Linked DNA regions of Homo sapiens: all the other regions are linked to region 2. Evidence: promoter capture Hi-C in 16 types of primary human blood cells and fetal thymus (Javierre and others, 2016). All regions are on one chromosome and are shown on one strand. The core of a region is centred on a gene start or on the middle of the fragment in contact, and the rest is flanking DNA. Distances in the headings are between cores, read along the strand shown.

Evidence for each region. The method cuts DNA at HindIII sites, captures the fragments that hold promoters and counts their contacts. A CHiCAGO score of 5 or more calls a contact.
Region 1: a contact is called between a fragment that was not itself captured here and the fragment with the promoter of HPS4 in region 2, in 2 of 17 cell types (total B cells and erythroblasts). The highest score is 5.6, in total B cells.
Region 3: a fragment that was not itself captured here is called in contact with the fragment with the promoter of HPS4 in region 2 in 2 of 17 cell types (total CD8 T cells and naive CD8 T cells); the score reaches 6.1 in total CD8 T cells.
Region 4: a contact is called between a fragment that was not itself captured here and the fragment with the promoter of HPS4 in region 2, in 1 of 17 cell types (fetal thymus). The highest score is 6.2, in fetal thymus.
Region 5: a contact is called between a fragment that was not itself captured here and the fragment with the promoter of HPS4 in region 2, in 3 of 17 cell types (naive CD8 T cells, non-activated CD4 T cells and total CD4 T cells). The highest score is 11.4, in naive CD8 T cells.
Region 6: a fragment that was not itself captured here is called in contact with the fragment with the promoter of HPS4 in region 2 in 1 of 17 cell types (naive CD8 T cells); the score reaches 6.8 in naive CD8 T cells.

What each region holds. Positions count from the first base shown.
Region 1 is chr22:25,404,443-25,408,204 of GRCh38, forward strand. It overlaps the pseudogene LRP5L. Among named protein-coding and RNA genes, the nearest start is that of MIR6817, 49 kb to the right of the region's middle. RefSeq lists silencers at 486-655, 696-1,125. The HindIII fragment of the contact is 6,552 bases long and covers 1-3,762 here.
Region 2 is chr22:26,481,907-26,485,429 of GRCh38, forward strand. It overlaps HPS4 (HPS4 biogenesis of lysosomal organelles complex 3 subunit 2), which reads right to left and starts at 1,877. Exons shown (of 14, transcript NM_022081.6): 1 at 1,768-1,877; 2 at 1-334. It overlaps SRRD (SRR1 domain containing), which reads left to right and starts at 1,971. Exons shown (of 7, transcript NM_001013694.3): 1 at 1,971-2,193. The coding sequence starts at 1,985. RefSeq lists an enhancer at 1,925-2,044 and a silencer at 2,065-2,154. The HindIII fragment of the contact is 3,757 bases long and covers 1,063-3,523 here.
Region 3 is chr22:27,898,561-27,902,393 of GRCh38, forward strand. All of the region lies in intron 3 of PITPNB (phosphatidylinositol transfer protein beta), which reads right to left. Among named protein-coding and RNA genes, the nearest start is that of PITPNB, 19 kb to the right of the region's middle. The HindIII fragment of the contact is 2,051 bases long and covers 237-2,287 here.
Region 4 is chr22:25,069,577-25,073,454 of GRCh38, forward strand. All of the region lies in intron 6 of KIAA1671, which reads left to right. Among named protein-coding and RNA genes, the nearest start is that of KIAA1671-AS1, 41 kb to the right of the region's middle. RefSeq lists an enhancer at 47-597. The HindIII fragment of the contact is 2,931 bases long and covers 113-3,043 here.
Region 5 is chr22:27,925,931-27,929,516 of GRCh38, forward strand. All of the region lies in intron 1 of TTC28-AS1 (TTC28 antisense RNA 1), which reads left to right. Among named protein-coding and RNA genes, the nearest start is that of MIR3199-1, 7.1 kb to the left of the region's middle. The HindIII fragment of the contact is 6,881 bases long and covers 1-3,586 here.
Region 6 is chr22:27,877,682-27,881,212 of GRCh38, forward strand. All of the region lies in intron 7 of PITPNB (phosphatidylinositol transfer protein beta), which reads right to left. Among named protein-coding and RNA genes, the nearest start is that of PITPNB, 40 kb to the right of the region's middle. The HindIII fragment of the contact is 3,859 bases long and covers 318-3,531 here.

The sequences.
Region 1 (3,762 bases), core at 165-2,664, 1.1 Mb before region 2:
CACAAACTGCTTAAGTGTCCTGAGTCCTCCTGACCTCAACTCCACCCCTTGGGAAACACCAAAAGTTGGAGACAAAGTTGCCCGGCCTTACTCTCTCCCCACTGGAGAGTACAACTGAGGCACGAACCTGCCTCCCCTACTGTCCCGCGCTCTGGGACCATGTCACCACCCCCCCCGCCCCCCTCCGGGCAGCCGACCCGGGGAGGGACACCATCTGGGACCCCGGCGGCCACAAGGGGCATTCGGGTCGCCCCGGCACCTGGCATGTGTCAGTCCGCTTGGAAACCCACAGCCACGGCTCACAGGGGCAGCGCCACCGGCCAGGCAGCCCCGCACCCGGGCTCAGAACTTTCTCGCTGCAACCTCAGCCGGTCCTCGGAGCACGCGGGCCGGCCGCGCGGCCGCTGGAAACAGAGTCGCGAACCGGCTTCCCGGGCCAGGCCCGCCTCCGGGCCCCAAGTCCCAACTTGGTGCCCGGCCCGGGCCACACGGGCCCAGCGCGGGCTCGGCTCCTGGCTTCCTACGGGCGCGGGCAGGTGAGGACCGGCCGGCGCCGCCCGCGCGCCCTCCTCACCGGCCCGGGACGCGGCGTCCCCGGGGATGGCCCGGGCAGGGACGGCGGGGGGATCCCCGGTGCGCGCCCCAACTCGCCCCCAACTCGCTTCCAAGGCGGCGGTGGCGCCCGTGCACTTGGTCGCGGGGCCGCCCGGGCCATTGTACTAGCAGCCCGCGGTCCCGGGTCGGCCCGCGCCCACCTACCTGCGGCGGGGGCCGGGCAGCCGCACAGCGCCAGCAGCAGCGGCCACGGCGGCCCGGGCAGTGCAGCCTCCATGTTGTCCAGCGGCCGGACGGGCTGGCGCCGCGCTCACTCGGGCTCCACAGCGCGGCGGCGGCGGCTGCGGCGGCTCCTCGCGCGTGTCCCTGCATCTTCGTCTTCCCCGTTGGGCGCCGCGGACCAGGACGACTGGGAGGAGGGAGCAGGGCGCGCGTGAGCGGAAGCAGCGCCGCGTCTCCGCCCCCCGCTGACGCAGCCGCCCGCGCCCCAGGGAGCCGGCCGGCGGCCGGGCGGGCCCCACGGCCCCAGCGGCCCGGGTCCCCGCGGCCCCTCCCCGCGCTCCTCGCCCTGCCCTGGGGGCGCCGCCGGGAGGCTCGGCGCGGGGCTGGGGCGCGGGGTTTCCGCCCCGCGGGGCCCGGGGGCAGATCTGGGCCAGGAGCCCGGTGTGTTACCTGTGGAGCCTCTATGAGTGGGGAAACTGAGGCACGGGGCGGGGCTGCCCAAGGGCACACAGCGAGGCAGTTTCAGGGCAGGAAGCCTGGGGTCCCATGGTGCGGCCCTGACACTTGTTCTCACCTGTGGAGGGCAGAGGAGGGGACAGGGAGAGAACTGCATGAAGCTGGCCAGCTGGGAGTGGAGGTGGGTTTGAATTTTTACTTTAAACTAAATGTGTACTCTCTACCTTAATTATGAATTATGAGACACGAAGACTGCGAAACAGACACGCTCCTCTAAAAGTGCCTCTAGGCTGACAGGGGAAAAGTCCCGCCAGGCTTCCAGACGCCACCTTTGAGTCCTTCAACAAGCAGGCCAAGGCCTCTTGCCCACCGGTGTCAGCTCAGCCACTGAACCCTCGAGGAAGAAGAGGTGCTCGAAGGGGAAGAATCTCACCCAGGCACAGCCTGGAAGGGGCACAGAAGGGGCTCTGGAACCAGCAAGCCCAAGTTCAAACTCCCGATCTGCTACTTTCTAGAACGACTGTGCCCTTGGCGGGTCTAAATAGAACCTCTCCGGGCACTCCTTCCTCCCTTGTAAAGTGGGAACAGCAATGGCCACCTTGCAGGTTCAGAGAGGGCTTGCAATACCTCACAGAACTGGGTGCCCGCGAACGTGTGCGTTCCTCCAGATTTGTGACAAATTTGCCAGGCTGGCGTGAGGCTGAACGCCTCTGCCCTCATGGGGTTTAAATTCTAGGAAGGGAGACCGACAAAAACAAGAAGACAAAATTAAAACAACAAAAGGCCCATTGACAGAACATGAAGAATGTCATGAAAAATGAAGGGTGTTGGGCTGCAGTGTTGGGAAACTCTGGCTTAGGGAAGGAAGGACACTTGAGCTGCCACCAAGGAGCAGCTGTCCGGCAGAAGGGCAGTTCAGGAAGAGCACACATCAATAGAGGAGGCCCTGCGGCAGGGGCCAGCGTGGTCAATGGACTGGGAGGAGGAACCACATCAGGCCACGAGCTGGAGCTGAGGGGTGGAAGGTGGAGCTGGGGGAAGGAAGAGGCCAGCTGGGGCCAGCACATGTCAGACCTCAGGCAGGGAAGAGGAATTGATAATGTACCCCACCAGCAATGGGAAGACAGGCTAGGATTTAAGCAGCAAAAATCCTTTCCCTTCTTGCACCCTGTGTCCACCTCTACCTCGACCCCCTTCCGCCTGACCTCATGGCAGCCAGGGAAGCTCCAGGGTTTGTGAGGGCCGCCATCTCAGGAGAGAAACAAGGGTCTCGGGCACCTTCAGGGCCGGCTCCAGCCACACTTATTCCCTGACCTCTCAGCCTCCTTAGCCACTCTCCCTTCCCACATCTCACCCTGCTACAGCCACAGTGGCATCCCTGTGGGTTCTCAAACACACTAGGCACACTCCTGCCTCAGGGCCTTTGCACTTGCTGTTCTCTGCTACAAGTTTTTTTTTTTTTTTTTTTTTTTTGAGACAGGGTCTCGCTCTGTCACCCAGGCTGGAGTGTAGTGGTGTGATCATAGCTCACTGCAACCTCGAACTCCTGAGCTCATGCAATCCTCCCACCTCAGCCTCTCCAGTAGTTAGTTTTCGTTGTTTTGTTTTGTTTGAGATGGAATCTCACTCTGTTGCCCAGGCTGGAGAGGCTGGAGTGCAATGCCACAATCTTGGCTCACTGCAACCTCTGCCTCCCAGGTCCAAGCGATTCTCCTGACTCAGCCTCCCAAGTAGCTGGGATTACAGGCATGCGCCACCGCGCCTGGCTCATTTTTGTAATTTTAGTAGAGACAGGGTTTCACCATGTTGGTCTGGCTGGTCTTCAACTCGTGACCTCAGGTGATCCACCCGCCTTGGCCTCCCAAAGTACTGGGATGACAGGCATGAGCCGCTGTGCCCGGCTCTAGTACTTAGGACTACAGACAGGGACCATCATGCCTGGTGATCCTCCCACCTTTTCTGCTTCAACTCTTTCACCCCACTTAGCCACATGGCTTTACTCTCTTACCTCTTCGGCTCCTCAGTCAGGCCTGACCACCCCTGTTGAAAATTGCAAATCATACCCCCCCACCGCCCACTCTTGCCAGCAGTTTCTGCTCCATTTCTCTGATTTACTTTTCTCCTTTGCACTCATCACTACCTGACATGTTTACATATCTTTATTCCCTCCACTAGCAAGGAAGCCCCAGGAGAGCAGAGAGTGTAGTTTTGTTCCCTGATGTGTTTCCTGTGCCTGTACCAGGGCCTAGCACACAGCAGGTGCTCAGTAAATGTTGGATGAACGAATACAGTGAAAGGATCCAATCTACATTTATAAAGAGGGCACTCTGGCTGCTGAGTGGGGATGAGACTGTCAGGAGGAGAGAGGCCCCTGTGGGGGCCTGGCCAGCAGGTGGGTACAATGGTAGCAGCTTGGACTCAAGTGGGTGGGGCCTGCTTAGGGCTCTGGCTGCAGGAATCAAGGGAAGGGGGCACAGGATGGCCTACAACTGGTCCAAAGTCAAGTCAGGTTTCTAAATTTGGGAAGCG
Region 2 (3,523 bases), core at 627-3,126:
CTTGGTTAGTTTTCACTCAGCATGGAAAGTTCCACTTCCCTTCCTTGCAGGTTCTTCAGTTTCATGTATATTTCCATGCCTCTTACAACTCAGGGAGAAACTATAACAGAGAATCCTAGCAGAAAAGTCAAATCCATTCCTCTGGTTTCCTAAGTATCACTGTGGCTGTCTGCAGAACCACCTCTTCAAGCTCCTCTCCAGGAAAGCCAAAAGTGGGAGATGCATGCTAGAGCTGGTGTTCTAAAGAAATTTCTAGCTTGTCTAGTTCAAACCCATCCTGAAGACTCTTATTAAACGTTTTGAAGTTTCCAGTTCAAACATCAGTGCCTTGGCTCTGAAATAAACACAAGGAATAGATATTTCAGCAACTCGTGAGAGAGCATGTGACCCAGCAGGATTAAACGAATGGTATATTTCAAAAGAGCTTTCTGTGAGGGTGACAATCATGCTTCAAAATCAAAGAGGGAGGCTTGCAGAGACTTCAGAGTAAGGGCTTTAGTTTCTCGAACAGTTAAGGGAAACACACCACAAGCTTCACGGAAGATAAAATCAAATGACAGGGTGAAAATGCTCTAGGTGTGGACAGCTATACAAATAAACCAGTTGCTGTGGTAATAATGGAACCCAAATTAAGGAACTGTCATCTTGACAGTCCAAAAGTAACCTGAACATGCAGAATTCCAGAGCAGGGCAAATTTCTAAAAAATGAAGAGAACTTTATCAAATGGCTTTCAAACTTCCACAAGAGAAAGACAGCTCAGTGTATCACGGAATTTCAGAGTCGGAAGGAACCCTGGCATCGTTTACTCTACTCTCCTGCACTCTTTTCCAAAAATTACCTTGGCTGTCTCTGCTTTACACCCTCCAGAGATGCGTGGTTCACTATGTTACATTTCTCCTTCCAACAAACTAAAATCTGCGTTCCAGATTTTACATCTGCCTCCCACTCGCTAGTCTGGATAACGCTCTGCAGGAAAACACAAAACAAGGTCTAATTCTTCCATGTGACAACCTCTTGGTCACTTCAAAACTATTGTCTAATTCTTACTGTCACTTTCTCCAAGCTTAATGCTTTAGCAACATGGTCTCAAATGTTTGCTCACCATTCTGCAATCTGTGGGTACACAATACAGTTTGTTAAAAGTCTCTAGAGACGACCCCCATTGAATATTTGACGGCCTGTAAAATCTCTATCTCTTCTCAGCTCTAGATATTTTGGATTGGGCCTCCACAGGACCACACTCATTGTATTCTATGGAGCATATTTGGGTGCCTGTGGAGGGGGTATCTCTGTTACTGGAACCAAGGACAGCAGCCTAAAACTCCCCATCCCTTGTTCCCAGAGGACTGGGCCCTACACTACCGAGGTCCTCTCTTATCTCTGAAAGGTCCAGAAGAGACCAATAATGGCCCTGGAGTAGGAAGAGACGTCGGAACATGAGCAGAAAAGGATCTGGTAGCCTGGGAAGTAATAGTAACAACGCGGGGCTGGGGCTGGTGATACTGCTGTGGGAAGGGGCCTCAGTGGGGCAGCAGGGCTGGAAAACGGACGCTAATGGCTGGAAAAGGGCCAGGAAGCTGCTGGGCGCAGCCCCCGGGGCGCAGGCAGCGACTGGTAACAGCACTAGGGCTGTGCGGTGTCTGGCCCCAGCTCTACGGGACTGGGAAATGGTGGGCGAACGCCTAAGGATTAGGCGGGGTCGGGTCACGCTCTAAGCTGGGGGCCCGCCCCTCGGTATCCCCGCGCTCCGAGCGCCGCCCACCCACCGGAGTAGCCAGGCATCCCAGTGCTCGGGGTTCGGGACTCTGGACCAGAAATGTGGGCAGCAGCTGGGTACCTGCGACTTCTGCCCCGTACCTGCGCGCGCGGCAGAGAGGCCTTAGGTCACGCGCCGCCCCGCCTACCTCCCCCTCCAGCTCCTGGCAAGCCGGCGCGCGGCGATGACGTGCCGAGTGCGCCGCACGCCGCTGACGTCAGAGACCAATGGCTGCGGCCGCAGCTGCGGCGCTGGAATCCTGGCAGGCGGCGGCTCCGCGGAAGAGGCGCTCCGCGGCTCGACGGCCGCGGCGGAGGGAGGCGGCGCCCCGGGGGAGAGAGGCGGCGCCCCGGGGGAGAGAGGCGGCGCCCCGGGGCCCCGAGGCGGAGTTCGAGTCTGACAGCGGAGTCGTGCTTCGTCGCATCTGGGAGGCTGAGTGAGTGCAGGCTCGGCCCTGATGGAATCTTTGCGCCCATGGGCAATTCTGAGCCACAGTCTCCCCATCTGTAGAGTGGAGATATAATGCACACCCTTTAAGGAGTTATTGTGAAGAGTTAACGTAGGTAACGAGCTCATTAAAGATGTGGATTATAGTAAGCGCTCAGTTAAAGGTCGTCTTTCCTTTTATTACGGTTACAGCTGCGTGACCTTGGACAATTTATAATCTCTGTGCCTCAGTTTTCTCATCTGTGAGATGGGGATGAAAATAGTACATACGTAGGTTTGTTTTGAGGATTCAATGAATTAGTAAACGGAAACCATTTTCTGGCACGTGGTAAGCACTGTGCCAGTGTTTGCTATTAATATTATGCCGATGTTGATATTATTGGTGGTGGTGACACGAGGGAAGCAACATGAACACGTGACTGCTATCATCAGGCAGCTGCTATGTGCCTGACATTAGCTTAATCATTCTACACACTTTATGTTAAACATTGCAGGCATACTAGGACCCTGGTAGCTCACTGATTCTCAAAGAGACAAAGAAAATGTGTGGAACCAGATTTCAAACCCAGGTCTTTGTGACAAAAACCAGTGCTTCCAGCTTTCCATTATGCTTGTTGCTTATCCCAGCCCAGATTCTCACATACCTTGCTCTGTACCTTAGAAAGTACATAGAGAGTGCCTAATACAGAGGAAACACTCAATAAATGTTACTTATTATTGTTATTTAGTATTATTATCTTTATTCGCAGTTTTGTTTAGGCTCAATAAATAACAGCTTTAGTTAGCACTTAAGATCAGCATCCGAAGGGCCGTCACAAGGGGAGAAATTAGATTAATTTTGTGTGCTCCTCTCCCCTAGAATTAGGGTCAAGAGGCAGTAATGTCCCAGAGTTTACCTCTGAAGAGAAAGTTGCTGACCATTTGGCTCAGCCTGAATAAAAAGCACCTGCGATTATTTTTAAGCTCTCAGAGGATGCCAGTGAGAGTGAATGTGCCTAGGGGTTTGGAAAACTCAAGGCATTTTTCATATCCCTTGACACTGTCACGATCTCCTCAACTGCTTCAGTATTCCCCAGGAGCTCCTTGCTTCTCCCAACACCCAAGTGTGGTGCAATCACCATCGCTCTGAGTAGAGATTGAGCCAGCATTTTACACGCATATCTGTGTACGCATTTACCAGTTCATAAAGCATTCCTGTGTACATCAGAACTCTCTACCCTCTGTGAGAAACGTGCAGCAGCCTCTGGGCCGACTTTCAATTCTCTGTACTCCTTTCTGAACCCCATAATCACTGTCTCTGGCTGTGGCTTGTCAGTTTA
Region 3 (3,833 bases), core at 12-2,511, 1.4 Mb after region 2:
TACTGTTTCTTAATGCAAAAAGCCCCAGAATAAGGAGATATCTCTGAATAAAAGTCTGAATACATTTTATAGAACAGACCTGAAGAAAAATGACAATGTAAAGGACCCATGCAGAAAATGAGAAATTAAAGCATATCCAAGTATAAAATTTTGTAGGTATGGGAGATGAATGTCACTTGCTGCCTTAAGTATATTCAGAGGAAGAGAAAGGTTCAATACATGATTAATATATGAGAAGCTTGTGCAAGCATATGATAATCAGAAACAATCCCAACATATAAAGGGGCAAAAGTCATCCACAGGCCCATTACAAATAGAAAATGTTATTTGTTAACAAACAAATGGGAAAATCAGTCTTAACAGTCTTCAAATAAATGCAAATGAAGTGACTGATATAGTGACTGGAGCCTACTGTAAAGAGTAGTTTTGCTTGCACAGACTTTTCACACAGATCGAATTCAAATCCCAACATCACCATTTGGAAGCTGTGTGACCTTAGGCCTGCTACTTGGCTTCTCTGAAATTCCTCATGTGTTGAATGGAATTCCTATTACCTGCTCTGCAGGGTTATTAAGAGAATTAAATCAAATACTGGAATGTGTTTAGCACATTGCACAGTACAATGAGCTCAAAAAATGGTAGTTACTGCTTTTTAATTATAAGTTGATACGGAGCTGGGTATTTTCATATGCCTTTCTTCATTTAAATCTTCCTTAATGTCTTCACATCCTTAAAAATGAAAGGAGCTAATTCTTTGTTCACTTATTTCTTTTTTCTTTTTTGAGACGGAGTCTCACTCTGTTGCCCAGGCTGAAGTGCAGTGGCAGGATCTCGGCTCACTGCAAGCTCCACTTTGGGTTCACGCCATTCTCCTGCCTCAGGCTCCCGAATAGCTGGGGGTACAGGCGCCCGCCACTAGGCCCGGCTAATTTTTTTGTATTTTTAGTAGAGACAGGGTTTCACCGTGTTAGCCAGGGTGGTCTTCATCTCCTGACCTCGTGATCCGCCCGCCTTGGCCTCCCAAAGTGCTGGTATTACAGGCGTGAGCCACCGCGCCCGGCCTGATCACTTCTTTTCAAATGGTGGAACAATTCATTCAAACTTCAGAAACACCAAGCCAGGATAACTGAAAATAACATCACTTTAAAAGTCAAAGAGTATCTAGCTGTCCAAAAAATTTATCCCATTGCTAAAGAACTAGAACCAAAATCCCTTTAAGTGTGGGTGAGGTCTAATCAGGGTACAATGGAACACATGAGGATAATTTTTTAAGCCAAGCTACAAGACTACCTATTCATCTGAGAGTATGACAAACAGATCTATCAATGGTTCAGCTGGTCAACTTAGAAAAAGCAGGAGAGGCCAGGCGTGGTGGCTCACGCCTCTAATCCCAGCACTTTGGGAGGCAGAGGTGGGTGGATCACCTGAGGTCAGGAGTTCGAGACCAGCCTGGCCAACATGGCAAAACCCATCTCTACTAAAAATACAAAAAATTAGCCGGGCATGGTGGTGGGTGCCTGCAATCCCAGCTACTCGGGACACTGAGGCTGAATTGCTTGAACCTGGGAGGTGGAGGGTGCAGTGAGCTGAGATCATGCCATTTCACTCCAGCATGGGTGACATAGCAAGACTCTGTCTTTAAAATAAAAAATAAAAAAAAAAAAAGAAAGAAAAAACAAAAAGGCAGGAGAAACAATTCTGTATTAACTCAGACACATATTTTAACTATCCATTTATTCCTATAGTGCCTGATATGTGAAGAACCTTAATATTCATAAAATGTTCTAAAATTTGCTGACTCAAATAGAAGGAAATTGGCATTTATCATTAAAGGCCAACATGAGCCAAATCTACATGAAAATTTTAATATTTCTTTATCTCGCTCCCAAATGCCTACTATCTTATTTCTAAGATACTTTTCCCACCATGTGAATTCCAGCAATTCATTTTATGTTTTGACTGAGTTAATAAAGTCCAAATCTATAAGCTAGATTTCAAATTTACTTTTTTTTTATGTTTAACGTGAGAACATTATCAAATACATCTCTCCTCAATGAATCTAAGTAACTGACTAAACGAGGAAAATGTGCACATGGAGTAAATAAAATTAAATTTCAATTCTACTTCAAAGGTTAGAAATTTTTATTAATGGCAACCTTAATATATTCCTAACATGGTAGTTCAAGTGTGCCAGGTATATATAATTGAGAGCATATACATCATTTTGCCACCACAGTTACCACTTAGCAAGGCACTTTAGTAAAATGCAGCAGATTCCTCATTTGGAAGCTTAGCCTCCGAAAAGAACAATTATTAACTGAATGAACAATAGTAAGGCCCTTTAGTAAAATGTAGCAGATTCCTGTTTTGGAAGCTTAGAGAGCCTCAGAAAAGGAACAATTATTAACTGAATTAACAAAATGGGAGATAGGCCTTCAAAAACAAACATGCAAAAAAGACAATCCTTCAGTTGTCCTCCCAAACTATTCACAAAATGGTGCTCCCTCATGATAAACCAATACTCGGAACAGCGTTCACTTACCTCAAGGTAAACATGGCTAGATTTCAGCTGCTTAAGAGTGAAGAGTTAAGAGTTACCCATAGCACAATGCCCAGGACCATGAAGACTCTTCAGGAATACATACCGCTTCTCCCACTCTGAATAGTACTTTAAGACTATTTAACTTCAGGGTAAAATATGACCATAAGGTACACTGAACGCCTGATCTAGGCACATTCCTTTTTTAATCCTATTCCTGAGATAAATAATACCATGCACTTTTCCCTGGAAATTATTATGTCTATCTGTAAACCACACAAGCAAGACAACTTTTCCCACCCTTCTCCTTCCCACTGCAGATGAACATCAAAACACAGAAAAATATAGGGAAGAATTTGAAGACCAGATTAATTTACCATAAATAAACCAATTAATCTTTCATTTTACAATCAACTGAAATATCCCCTAAATACACTGTGATGCCTTCTCTTCACTAGTCAGGAAAAGCTCAGCTGAGAAGGCAAGAAAAGAAAAGAAAGGGCCAGGTGCGGTGGCTCACACCTGTAATCCAAGCACTTTGCCAGAGGTCAAGGTGGGAGGATCACCTGAGGTTGGGAGTTCGAGACCAGCCTGGCCAACATGATGAAACCCTGTGTCTACTAAAAACACAAAAATTAGCTGGACATGGTGGCGGGTGCCTACAATCCCAGCCACTTGGGAGGCTGAGGCAGGAGAGTCGCTTGACTCAGGGAGGTGGACGCTGCAGTGAGCCAAGATCACACCACTGTACTTCAGCCTGGGGACACAGTGAGACTGTGTCTCAAAAATAATAATAATAAATATATATATACCTACATACATAAAATACTGGGTACCTCATTCATTCATCCACTCAAATATTTCCTGTGTCCACTGCGCCAGGCCAGGGGCTGTGTAAATAATGGTGAGTACGCAGGGACGACTCCTACTCAGAACTTATTTCCAGGGATGGAGGCAGAAAACAGATTAGTAAACAACAAAATACAAAGAGAATTACTTAACAAGCAGTGCAGTGAAATTAAAGAACAGGGTACTGGGCAATCAGTAAGTGGAGCAAGGGTATTCGGGAAGGCCTCTCTGAGGAAATAATATTACAGCAGTGATCCAAGGGTACGGAGGCAGGGAACAGAACAGCAAGCAGAGGGAACAGCATGACTACAGGTCCTAAGACAGCAAAAGACTTAACGTGCTTGAGCCACTCTTAGGCCTCCAGCATGGCTAGACTGCAGTGACCAAACATGGAGAGAGGGCAGAAAGACCACATGGGCCCCACCTTATACGTCACAGAGTTTAG
Region 4 (3,878 bases), core at 328-2,827, 1.4 Mb before region 2:
TTTAGCTACCAACTCACCGCGTGACCTTGGCCAAGTCCCTTGACTTCTCTGGGCCTCGGTTTTCCTCTCTGTAAAATGGGGATGGCCACACCCTCCTTCTGGGGGGATCAGAAGCTTAGCTGAGTTTAAAAGGAACATGACTGACATCAAAGGAGCCCGGTAAACCAATGGGATCCTGAGTTGATTTCCTTCCCTGTAACGAGTGGCAGGGCCTCCTTCTCCTCATGTGGTTTGGGGAGGAGGAACCACATACATTTGGGCTCACACGCACAGCACACAGTCAGTCCACACATGCACAAAACACACTCGTATGCACACATGCACACATACTTGACTCCACGTAAAAGCATGTACACACACACTCCTTCATGCATAAACACACACACACACGCGTGCACACATTCAGTTCCCGGGCATCACCTTCTCTCTTCTTGCCTTCTTGCCGTACAACTGAAAACCCTAAAACCCTCCGTGCCTACGGCTCCCGGGAGGGTGAGGGTCCAGGCAGCTGGGTTCAGAAGGATCCACCCCTGGACCCGCCCCACTGGACGAGAAGCCAGAGATGCCCCGGGCGGGGCTCATAGGACCGAGTGGTGGCTTCTCAGTTCCCCAGGCAGCCGTGGCCATTAGTGGAGCCGACTGGCTGGTCCCCTGGCCGTGAGCCGGCTTCTGAATGATTTATGCCGCCTTGAACTTGACTCCAGCGTGACAGGAGTGAGAAGAGCCGCTCCCGCTAGAGGAAAGCTGGAAACCGTACTGTGCTCACCACATAACCTCTGGGTGCTGGAAATGGAGTATTACTACTGCCCCAGCCTGCTGAAGCTCTTGCGCTACCTCTGGGTGAGTGGCGGGGGGCAGTGCAGGCTCCAGGACGGGGTCACGTCCTTTCCCTCTCCTCCTGCTTCCTGTCAACTTTGCTTTTTGGCTGTGTCTGGTTAGCAATGTCTCTGTTTTCTTTAAGAAATGGTGGAGGTTACAAGGAAGAGAGAATGTTGGGGAAAAAGGAAACGGGCTTGGTTTGGGAGGTAGCACAGGTTTGTAGGAAGAGCTGAGACTCCTGAACAGGAATGAAGATCCTGGATCCGATGTGGGCTTTCCTCCAGTCCTCAAGAAAACAGGAAGAACGAGAACCACTTCAGTGAGTTTTTCAGAAAGCAACATTTATTTGATTTAAAGGACTATTCTTTATTCTGAAATTACATCCCTCTTGCCTCTGTGTGTGTAAGAATGTCTGTCTTCTATGGGATGAAAATAATAGATTTTGCTTTCCTTTTCCTGAACCTACACAGTGATAGAAGAAGTTGGGACCCCTTCCCCACTAACACTCACACTGTGCTGTCTCCTCTGGATAACAGAGGAAAAAAACCAGAACATTTTCTGATGAAATGCCAAAGTCAGGGAAGCTGTGCAGAAGTGCTTTGTGAGGTATAAAATGCTTTCAGGTCTCACTTTGACTTCGCAACTGGTCTGTTTTCTGTGCCTGGGCAAGTTACTTCTCCTCTCTGGGTTTCTGTTTCCTCCTCTGTGAAATAAGGAGTGGGTGTAGGTGATTCTGGGTTGTGTGACATCCATCAGGGCTCTGGGAATAGAGGGACTTACCGAAGAATTGTCATGGGCTGGTCTCAGAGTTTTCCAGAATATTTGCCACTGGTTTCAGCACACCCAAAAGGGAAAGTCTTAGGAAATATTATCTTTCCCATTGCTGAGTGTTTGCAAATACTTCAGATGCCTTCTTGCCCAGAGAATTTTCCAGCGCTCCTAAAAATACAACTTTAGGAAACATTGCCTTTTAGCCGCCAGTCCCAGAGTGTCTCACCTCCCTCCTGAGCCCCCCAGAGCAGTGGGGAAACAGGAGATCCCCCCAGTCCATATTGTTCAATCATTGGCCTATGAACATTCTTATATAATAAATGTAAGGCAACATTGATTGATTGATTGATTGATGTTTTAATTACAAAAATAATGCATGTGCATGGTAAAAAGATATGGAAAATTCAGACAGGCACAAAGAAGAAAAGAAGTCTCCAATAATCGTATTTTTGAATTGTGTGGTTTGCAAGGTCTGGATAACCTTGATGTGCCTGGCTGCGTGTTGGGCTCTGGGCTCCATGCTGGAGATGCAGAGATGACTAAGATACAGTCCACGGTCCCCAGAACTTAGAGCTTGGCATAGGTGTTGAACTCATTGACAAATGGCTACGATCTCATGTTCATTCAGCACACACTTACCAGCAGTAGTTTGGAGCTAGCGCCAGATACTTGGAATATAGGAGCAAGACGGCATGGTCCCCTGACCGCATGGAACTTAGTCTGGTGAGAATTTGGACTTTGCTCAAGGAACTGAAACAAGGACCATGTATGTGTTAGGATGGGGGTGGTGCACAGTGCCTCAAGGGATATGGTCTCGTTGGGGTGCAGGGGCCAGGAGAGCCTCCCCAAGGAAGCTGAGTGCTGGAGGATGCCTAGGAGCTGGCAGTTGATGCTAGGGTAGGGGTCCAGGGAAGTGTGTGCCAGGCAGAGGGAACAGCATGTGCAAAGGGCTGGGGTGGATGTCAGAAAGAGCAAGAGCCCATGGCATGCCCATGGTACATTCCAGGTACTGGCCTAAGCTCATCCTGGCCAGTAGAGGCTGGGCAGTAATGCCCTCAGCCTCCTAGGGGCAGCTTTGTGGAGTGACAGAGTCACAGCTCCTCACCTGGCTGTGTCCCACCTCTCTAGTGACCTTGGGCAAGTCTTTTCCTCTCTGGGCCTTGGTTTCCCCATCTGGACCATGAAGAGGTAGGATGAGGCAGTTTAGAAAGTCTTTCCTAGATGTGATAATGAGAGAGATTTTCATTTGTCCGCTGCTTTCTGTGGGTGACCAGGTCCTGGGGGAGTGAGGAGCCACATAGGCCCACCGCTGGTTTTGCAAATTACCCACAATTTCTCTGTCTCTCTGAGTCACTGAAGACAGCCTGGCACACGTGTTAACAAGACCGGGATCTTAGATTAGCCCAGGTGTCTGCACTTCTAAACTGGAAACTCTTGCTTGACCTCTCAAGGAAGCTTGGGAATGTGGACCTGGATTCTGAGGAAGCCCCGTGGCCTTGGGAAGTCCATTTCAGCTTCCCAAACTTCAGCTTCCTCATCTGCAAAGCGAGGCCCCGCTGCCTTCCTGATTTGCTTCTTGGGGCAATTCCTTTGAATTCTCTAGCTCATTTCTGAAACCTAGAAGCTGCTCCCAGAATGTCAGTTCCTCCTGCTTCCCAGGAGGCCACCGTCAGATTTGGTGACCAGCTAACCAGGAATAATTGCAGAGAGCCAGGTGGAGGTGCTCGCTCCCCTGCCACTCCTGTAGCTTCGCATAGCTTGAACATGCGTTCATCCATCATTTCTTCAGCATGGGCCCCTCCTCACTGCCCCTGGGCCCTGGTAATGTTGCCCATTCACTAGGGTCTTCCCTGGTGAATGACCCCCTTCCCTTCTGCATTCTTTGTCCTGTTATTCTACCTTTTTGTTTGTCTGTTTTTAGAGATAGGGTCTCACTCTGTCACCCAGGCTGCAGTGCAGTGAATGATCATAGCTCACTGCAGCCTTGTCCTCCTGAGCTCAAGTGATCCTCCCACCTCAGCCTCCAGAGTAGCTGGGACTACAGGTGCGTGCCATCATGCCCAGCTAATTTTTTAACTTTTTATAGAGATGTGGCCTCACTATGTTGCCCAGGCTTGTCTTAAACTCTGGAGCTCAAGCGATCCTCCCACCTCAGCCTCCCAAAGTGCTGGGACTACAGGCGTGAGCCACCATACCCAGCCTGCAAATTTTTAAAGTTTTAAATAAATTTTAAAATGTTGTATACATTTAAAGTGTGCAACCAGATGTTTTGGTATATATACATATAC
Region 5 (3,586 bases), core at 59-2,558, 1.4 Mb after region 2:
CCCATTTTCAAATTGTTCTTTTTCTGTTTTTGAGTTGGAAGAGTTATTTGAATATCCTACATATAAGTCCTTTCTCAGATGTTTGTGTTATGAGTATTTCCTCCCAGTCAGCTGCTTGCCTTTTCATCTTGGTGGTATATTTCAAACAGCAGAAATTTTAAGTTCTGATGAAGTCTAGTTTCTCATTTTGTTTTATGGTTCATGCTTTCTGTGTACTTCCTGAGAAATCTTTGCCTAAGCCAGAGGCACAAAGATTCTTATTTTACTATGTTTTCTTCTGCAAGTTTTAAAGTTTTGGCTCTTACATTTAGGTCTGTGAGCCATTTCAAATAAGTTTTGGTGTATATGTGAGGTAAGAATCAAGTTTGATTTTTTTTTTTGCATATGTATATCCAATTGTAGCCCCCATTATTAAAAAGACATTTCCTTTACTCATTTGTTGAAAATCAGTTGACTGTGTGTATGCGGGTCTGTTTCAGGAGAGTGTTCTGTTCCATTGGTCAATATGTTTATGTAATACCACACTGCTTTGATTACTATAGCTATATAGTAAGTCTTGAAATCGGGTGGTTTATTTCCTCCAGTTTCTACATTTTCAAAATTGTTTTGGCTCTTCTAGGATTTCATTTCATTAATTTGTTTAAAAAAGAACCCTGGTGGAATTTTTATGGGACTTTTCATTCAATCTATAGAACAATTGGGAAGAATTGACATCTTAATATTGAATCTTTATAAATGGTATATCTCTTCATTTATTTAGATCTTCAATGTTTCTCAGCTCTTGGCAGCATTTTGTAGCTTACAGGGTATAGGCTTTGCAAATATTTTGCTTTATCCTTAAGTATTTTGTGGTTTTTTAAAAAAAATTGTAATTTTTAAAAATTCCTCAAGTATTGATAATATGTAAAGATAGACTTGATTCTTGTTTATTCCCCTTGCTGGACTTACTTGTTACAAGAGTGGTTTTGTGTGTTTTATAAGATTTTCTATATAACAGTCTCTGAGTAAAGACAGTTTCATGTTTTTTTCCAATCTTTATGATTTTTATTCTTTTCCTTTATGGCACTGGTTAAGAACTCTAATACTGTTGCTGTAAGTGGTGAAATCAGTTTATTGATCTTTTTTTTCCCACCAGCCCATGTAGAGAAAGTTTACCAATTGGATAGATGTTTTTACCCCGTTCTTTGATTTTTCTCTACTTATTTTCAGTTTGATTGATTTTTACCTTTTATTACTTACCTCTGCCTAGTTAGTTTTGGTTTAATTTTTTCTATTTTTAGCTTTAAGATAGAAGCCCATATCATTGCTTTTAGACTTTCTTCTCAAATATAAGCATTTAAACATATAAATTCATCTCTAAGTTCTGGTTTAGCTGCATTTATATTTTTATGTTTTCATTGTCATTCAGTTCAAAGTATTTTCTAATTTTTTTTTAACTTTGGACTATTTGGAAGTATATTAATTACCAAATATTTCAATATTCTCCACATTTTAAAGTTTCAGTTTAATTTGCTTACAGTCCAAGAATATACCCTGTATGATTTTAATCATTTCAAATTTATTGAAACTTATAATCTAGTTTGTTCTTGCTTTGTGTATTTTGAGGTTTTGTTAGTAGATCCCTACACCTGTAGGACTTTTATGTTTTCTTGATGAATTATCCTCATTATAGTTGTGGCATACTTCCCTTTATCCTTGATAATATTCCTTGTTCTGAAGCCTATTTTGCCTGATATTAATGTAGAGTTTCAGCTTTCTTATGATTTGTGTTTGCGTAGTAGGTATCTTGTTATTCCTTTTAACCTTTTTGTCATTGTAGTGATAGTAATTTGTACACAACATATAGTTGGACCTTGCTTTTTAATCCAGTCTGATACTGGACCTTTTAAGTAGAATGTTAGGCCATTTATATTTAATATAGTTATAAAATGGTTGGGTTAAATCTACCAATTTTTTTATGTTTACTGTAGAGCTTATAAGATGTATCTGTAACTTACCACAGTCTACCATTAACCCTTTTCTTAGAAAAAAAAAAAAAGGTGCAGCTCACTGCCAGCACTCATTTAATTTTACATAAACATGCTTTTTGAGGATGAAGCAAATCTGATTTCCAATGTGAAAATAAAATATAAAAACTGTTCTTGGAGTTATTTCTAAATAGAACTAACATCAGAATTGTGTGAATCATTAGAATCATCTATTTCAGAAAAATTGGATTTATCAAATTTTTGGCCAACAACTGTTCAAGAACAATGTTAACATCACTCATAGGAATGCTATGTATTCTAGGATTTGACATTTTCAGTGATTGAGAATTACTATATTTTATAAATGGAAATACCACTACTAAAAACAGAATGCTATAAATAGAATGATGTCTTTTGTTTCGGGAGTCAATATTACTAGAGCAATGCAACAATAATTATAAAAGTGAGATATTTTGTGGCAAAGGTATCTCACGGTAAACTCTGTAGCTACAAGTGCTGCCAGCAAGTATTCTTGGGGCAAATGGGAAAAGGGTTAAATGGAATTAAACTGTTTCACATAAAATGTAAGAAACAAGAGTATACTTTCATCTCTCTTCTTGTTTTTACAATCTCACAAAACATCATTATTTTGCTTTAAAACAGTCAGTTATTGGCCGAGCACAGTGGCTCACGCCTGTAAGCCCAGCACTTTGGGAGGCCGAGGCAGGTGGATCACTTGAGGTCAGGAGTTCGAGACCAACCTGGCCAACAGGGTGAAGCCCCGTCTCTACTAAAAATACAAAAATTAGTCAGGCATGGTGGCACATGGCTGTAATCCCAGCTACTGGGGAGGCTGTGGCAGGAGAATTGCTTGAACCCGGGAGGTGGAGGTTGCAGTGAGCCAAGATCATGTCATTGCACTCCAGCCTGGGCAAAGAAGTAAGACTCTGTCTCAAAAAAAAAGAAAAGAAAAAAAGTCAGTTATCAACCAGGTACAATTTCTCATGCCTGTAGTCCCAGCATTTTGGGAGGCCAAGGCGGGAGGATCACTTGAGGCCAGGAGTTTGAGACCAGCCTGGGCAATATAGCGAGACCCTATCTTTCAAAAATTTTTAAAATAAAACTGAGAAAATAGTATTTTCTATTCTCTTGCTAACATTTGTTCAATATTTACTTTATGCTGGGTATTCTAAGTGCTTTGCATGATTTAATACATTTAATCTTGTAAGCAAACACATGATGTAGGTACTACTATCTATTTTACAGTTAAGCAAAGTGAGAGACAGCTAATTAACCCAAATTTAGTCAACTAGCTGGAATGTGAACCCAGCCAGTCTGGTACCAGAGCCTGAGTTTTTAACCACTTTGCTATACTGCCTTCCTAAATTGACCATGACCTCCAGTATAGTTTCAAGCAGAACATATAAAAGTAGGCATTTATTTTTTTTAAGAGACAGGATCTCCCTTTTTCACCTAGGCTAGAGTGCAGTGGCGTGATGGTAGCTCACTCCAGCCTCAAATTCCTGGACTCAAGGGATCCTCCCACTTCAGCCTCCCGAGTAGCTGGGACTACAGGCATGTACCACCCCACCTGGCTAATTTTAAAACTTTTTTTTTTA
Region 6 (3,531 bases), core at 997-3,496, 1.4 Mb after region 2:
AATCTGTCTGTGCTGAGCCAAACTAAATGTCCCTGAGCCCAGATTTAACTCCTAATTATGAATGGGGAAGTGAGTAGGAGGTGGGGGGCAGGCTGGTAGGAGTTTCTTGACAGCTTGTGGAAAAATTGAGATGAGCTCCAGACACCAGAAACTGCTTAAATAACCATGCATGGGTTACTAGAGGTGAGGCTAAGTGTAAACTAAGGAAAAGAGGACCCAAACCACAAGCATTAGCAACTCCTTGGCACCTGCTTATAAAAGATCAACCCCTATTTTCTATCCTGTGGAGAGGGGGTGTTTTACTGGGCAAACATAAAAGCTTGAGAGAGACATTAGGATCCTGCAGCCTGTTATATAAAATGCTTTCCTTTAGCATACAATGATTAATTAGGTGTCTATTAAAATAGCTCAAAGATAATCATTAAGTTTTAAATGCATGGGTATTGCAGTTCAACTTAGCAAGGCTTATTTCCTCTAATCACATCCTAAAAATAAAGCCCAGGATGGGGAATAAAGCTGAATTAAATATGAAGATAAATAACAAACATCATTTATTAGCACTGCCCTGAATTTTCCAGTATTGTGGCACCTAAATGAGTTCCTGGATCCTATCACTGTTGACCCTAATGCCAAACGAATAACTAACTCAAGCTGACAAAATTCAAGCGAGACTCCAAAGAGTAAGTAAGCCCATTAAAAAAAAGTTTACATTAAATTTTGCAAAAGCAAATAACAGAGGTGTAAAGAGAAATAACATTTACTAACTTGTTTAAGAAACTGATTTCAACAGTTATTTTCAAATAAGCAGCTTTCTTTTCTATTTTTAATTACATCTCCCCAGTGACTCCTCAACCTTTCAGGTTCCCACAGAGTACCATTAATATAGTATAAGTAAATCTCATTAATTCAGGTCCTACTACCTTGGAATACATAATCATTCAGACAGGGGCTGGGCTGAAGTTTATCTTTGCATGATCTATGAAAAAAAGATTTGCTACACAAATTAATAGAGTAACAAGATCTCAGGAGGGCTGTTTAAACAGTTCAGAAGTGTTTTAGAGCAATTCAGAAGCATTCATTTGCATATAATTATTATGCTAATTACAAATCATTCTTATCTATTCATTAAAGCAGATTCCCAAAGGACCACTAATTGTCAATAACTTGTTGGCCTAGTTTCTGTTACTGAATGTACCTCAGAGGGACAAAACTGCATTAAAAAATATTCTATAATTCAGTCCTCTCATTAAACCTTACTGGCTTTCCACCAATGAATCCTAAAAGCTGAATTTTAAACAACTGTATTGAGAACTGAGAAATGCAGTCAAATCTACACCCCTGAACATAACACTTTTTTTTTTTGGTAATCTTTCTGATCTCAAAGAGACCCTCCATAGAGTCCTGAGATGGTGGGGGTGAGCCTGGCATGTGGGTGGTGGGAGCACTGCTAGGCTAGAGCACAACTAAACTAATCGTTCATTCCATTCTTTCTGATCTTATCCTTATCCCCAACACTGTCATGTTTATGGAGGCAGACTCCTAAAGCCTTTGGAAGGATACAAATTAATAGAGAAAGAGAAAGAAATCAGAATTTCAGCCCCAAGAAAAGGTTACAAACAGATGGCTATGTGATACACTCCATATCCTACAACACAGCAAGGAAACCAAATAGCTGTGCTCCAGGATAAGATGAGAAAGTGAGGCCCAATGGAGCAAGCTCTTGAGATTCCTGTATAGCCCAGAGCTACTGGGGCTAGTGAGCTGCCTTAAGCAGCTGCCCATGGGCTACACCCCAGCACTCTCCTCAGGGGGAGGTGGGTTCCTGCTTTGGGCAGTTCATGCACAAATATAGAATATATTTATTATTGTAATATTGTATTTATTACTAGTATATGTTTATATATTATAACACTTAAAAATGAAGATATTTCAAACTCTACTACCAATGAAATGAGTTTTAACAAGTTAATTCCATAAAGGTGTTTGTTAAACATTACATATTTTAAAATTATACTGCATATACCTGAAATGTAAGTGATACATTTAGAAAAGTTTTATTTACAAAAAGGCATGTTTCCTTAAATGACAGTAAATCACTGAACATATTATATCAATTTCCTTAAACTGAAATGGGGGAAAACACCCTAGTAAAAATTCAGAGTGAGCCCTCTCTCACTCTGAATGTTAGTCCATGATTTGGCCTTTAGCTTCTAAGTCCCAAGATTCCATTTAGTCCATTAGCATTAAGTTAACAAATATTCAACATGAAAAAGTTAAAATATGAAAAAAATTAAACATTTTTTTAAAGTAAGAACAAAATCCAATAAGCAACATCATTCCTGCTACCATTTTGAAGCACACACTTATGTGTCAGGCCCCCACATTCTCCCAGTTAATGCTCAAAAACTTGAAATAAAGGTACTGGACTATCACCACCACTAGGGGCAGGGAAGTGAAATTCTTTGCCAGAGTCCACCATCACTGAGCAGAAGAGCCAGGACTCAGATGCTGCCCTGTCTGACACCAAAGCCAACCATGATCCTTTATTGAAAAAATGTGATTTACATTCTACCATTTGATTAGACTCAAGTACCTGAAGGGACGCTTGCTCCCTCTCAGCCTAGGGAGCCTTCCTTAAAAAAGAGTTTACATGGCTGAAAAGGGGCTTTTATAAGAAATGCACTGTAAAAACTTGACTTGGAGCTGTTTATGCTTATTTCTTTACAAATATCTGCCATGAGCTGCTCAAAAACATTTTCTGACTCTCAGAGAATTTTATCCCCCACCCAAGGAACTAGAGCAAATCCTATTCACACCCCCATCACCTCCATTACCCTCCCCGCCTTTTTACTTTTAAAACATGGAAGAAATTAGGAATAAACCTTAAATTAATAATGGTTTCTAGTGAAAAAGCATTTTGTACAAAACATGCTTGTACACACCGATTTTTTTTTTTTTGAGATGGAGTTTCGCTCTTGTTGCCCAGGCTACAGTGCAATGGCACGATCTCGGCTCACTACAACCTCCGCCTCCCAGGTTCAAGCGATTCTTCTGCCTCAGCTTCCCGAGTAGCTGGGATTACAGGCACATGCCACCATGCCCAGCTAATTTTGTATTTTTAGTAGAGAGGGGGTTTCTCCATGTTGGTCAGGCTGGTCTCGAACTCCCAACTTAGGTGATCTGCCTGCCTCAGCCTCCCAAACTGCTGGGATTACAGGCGTGAGCCACTGCACCCAGTTAATAAAATTTTAAAATCCTTGCTAATGTTTAAGCAAGCACGACATAAGCAATATGTTGTTTTCCCACAAGAGGGCACTATCCAACCATGCCTTCGAATATAGTGGACATTCTCTAAATCTACTACTGGAAATGATCTGAAAGTGTGTGACCATGTAAGGCAGTGGAATAATGTAGGAAACATTTTCACATTTCTTTTTAATAGAAAACATGCCTACATTTATTTATATCTTCTTTGAAGATGGGGGAAAAATCTCTAACTTACTACAAAAGACCTTGACAACAGTCTGTTTC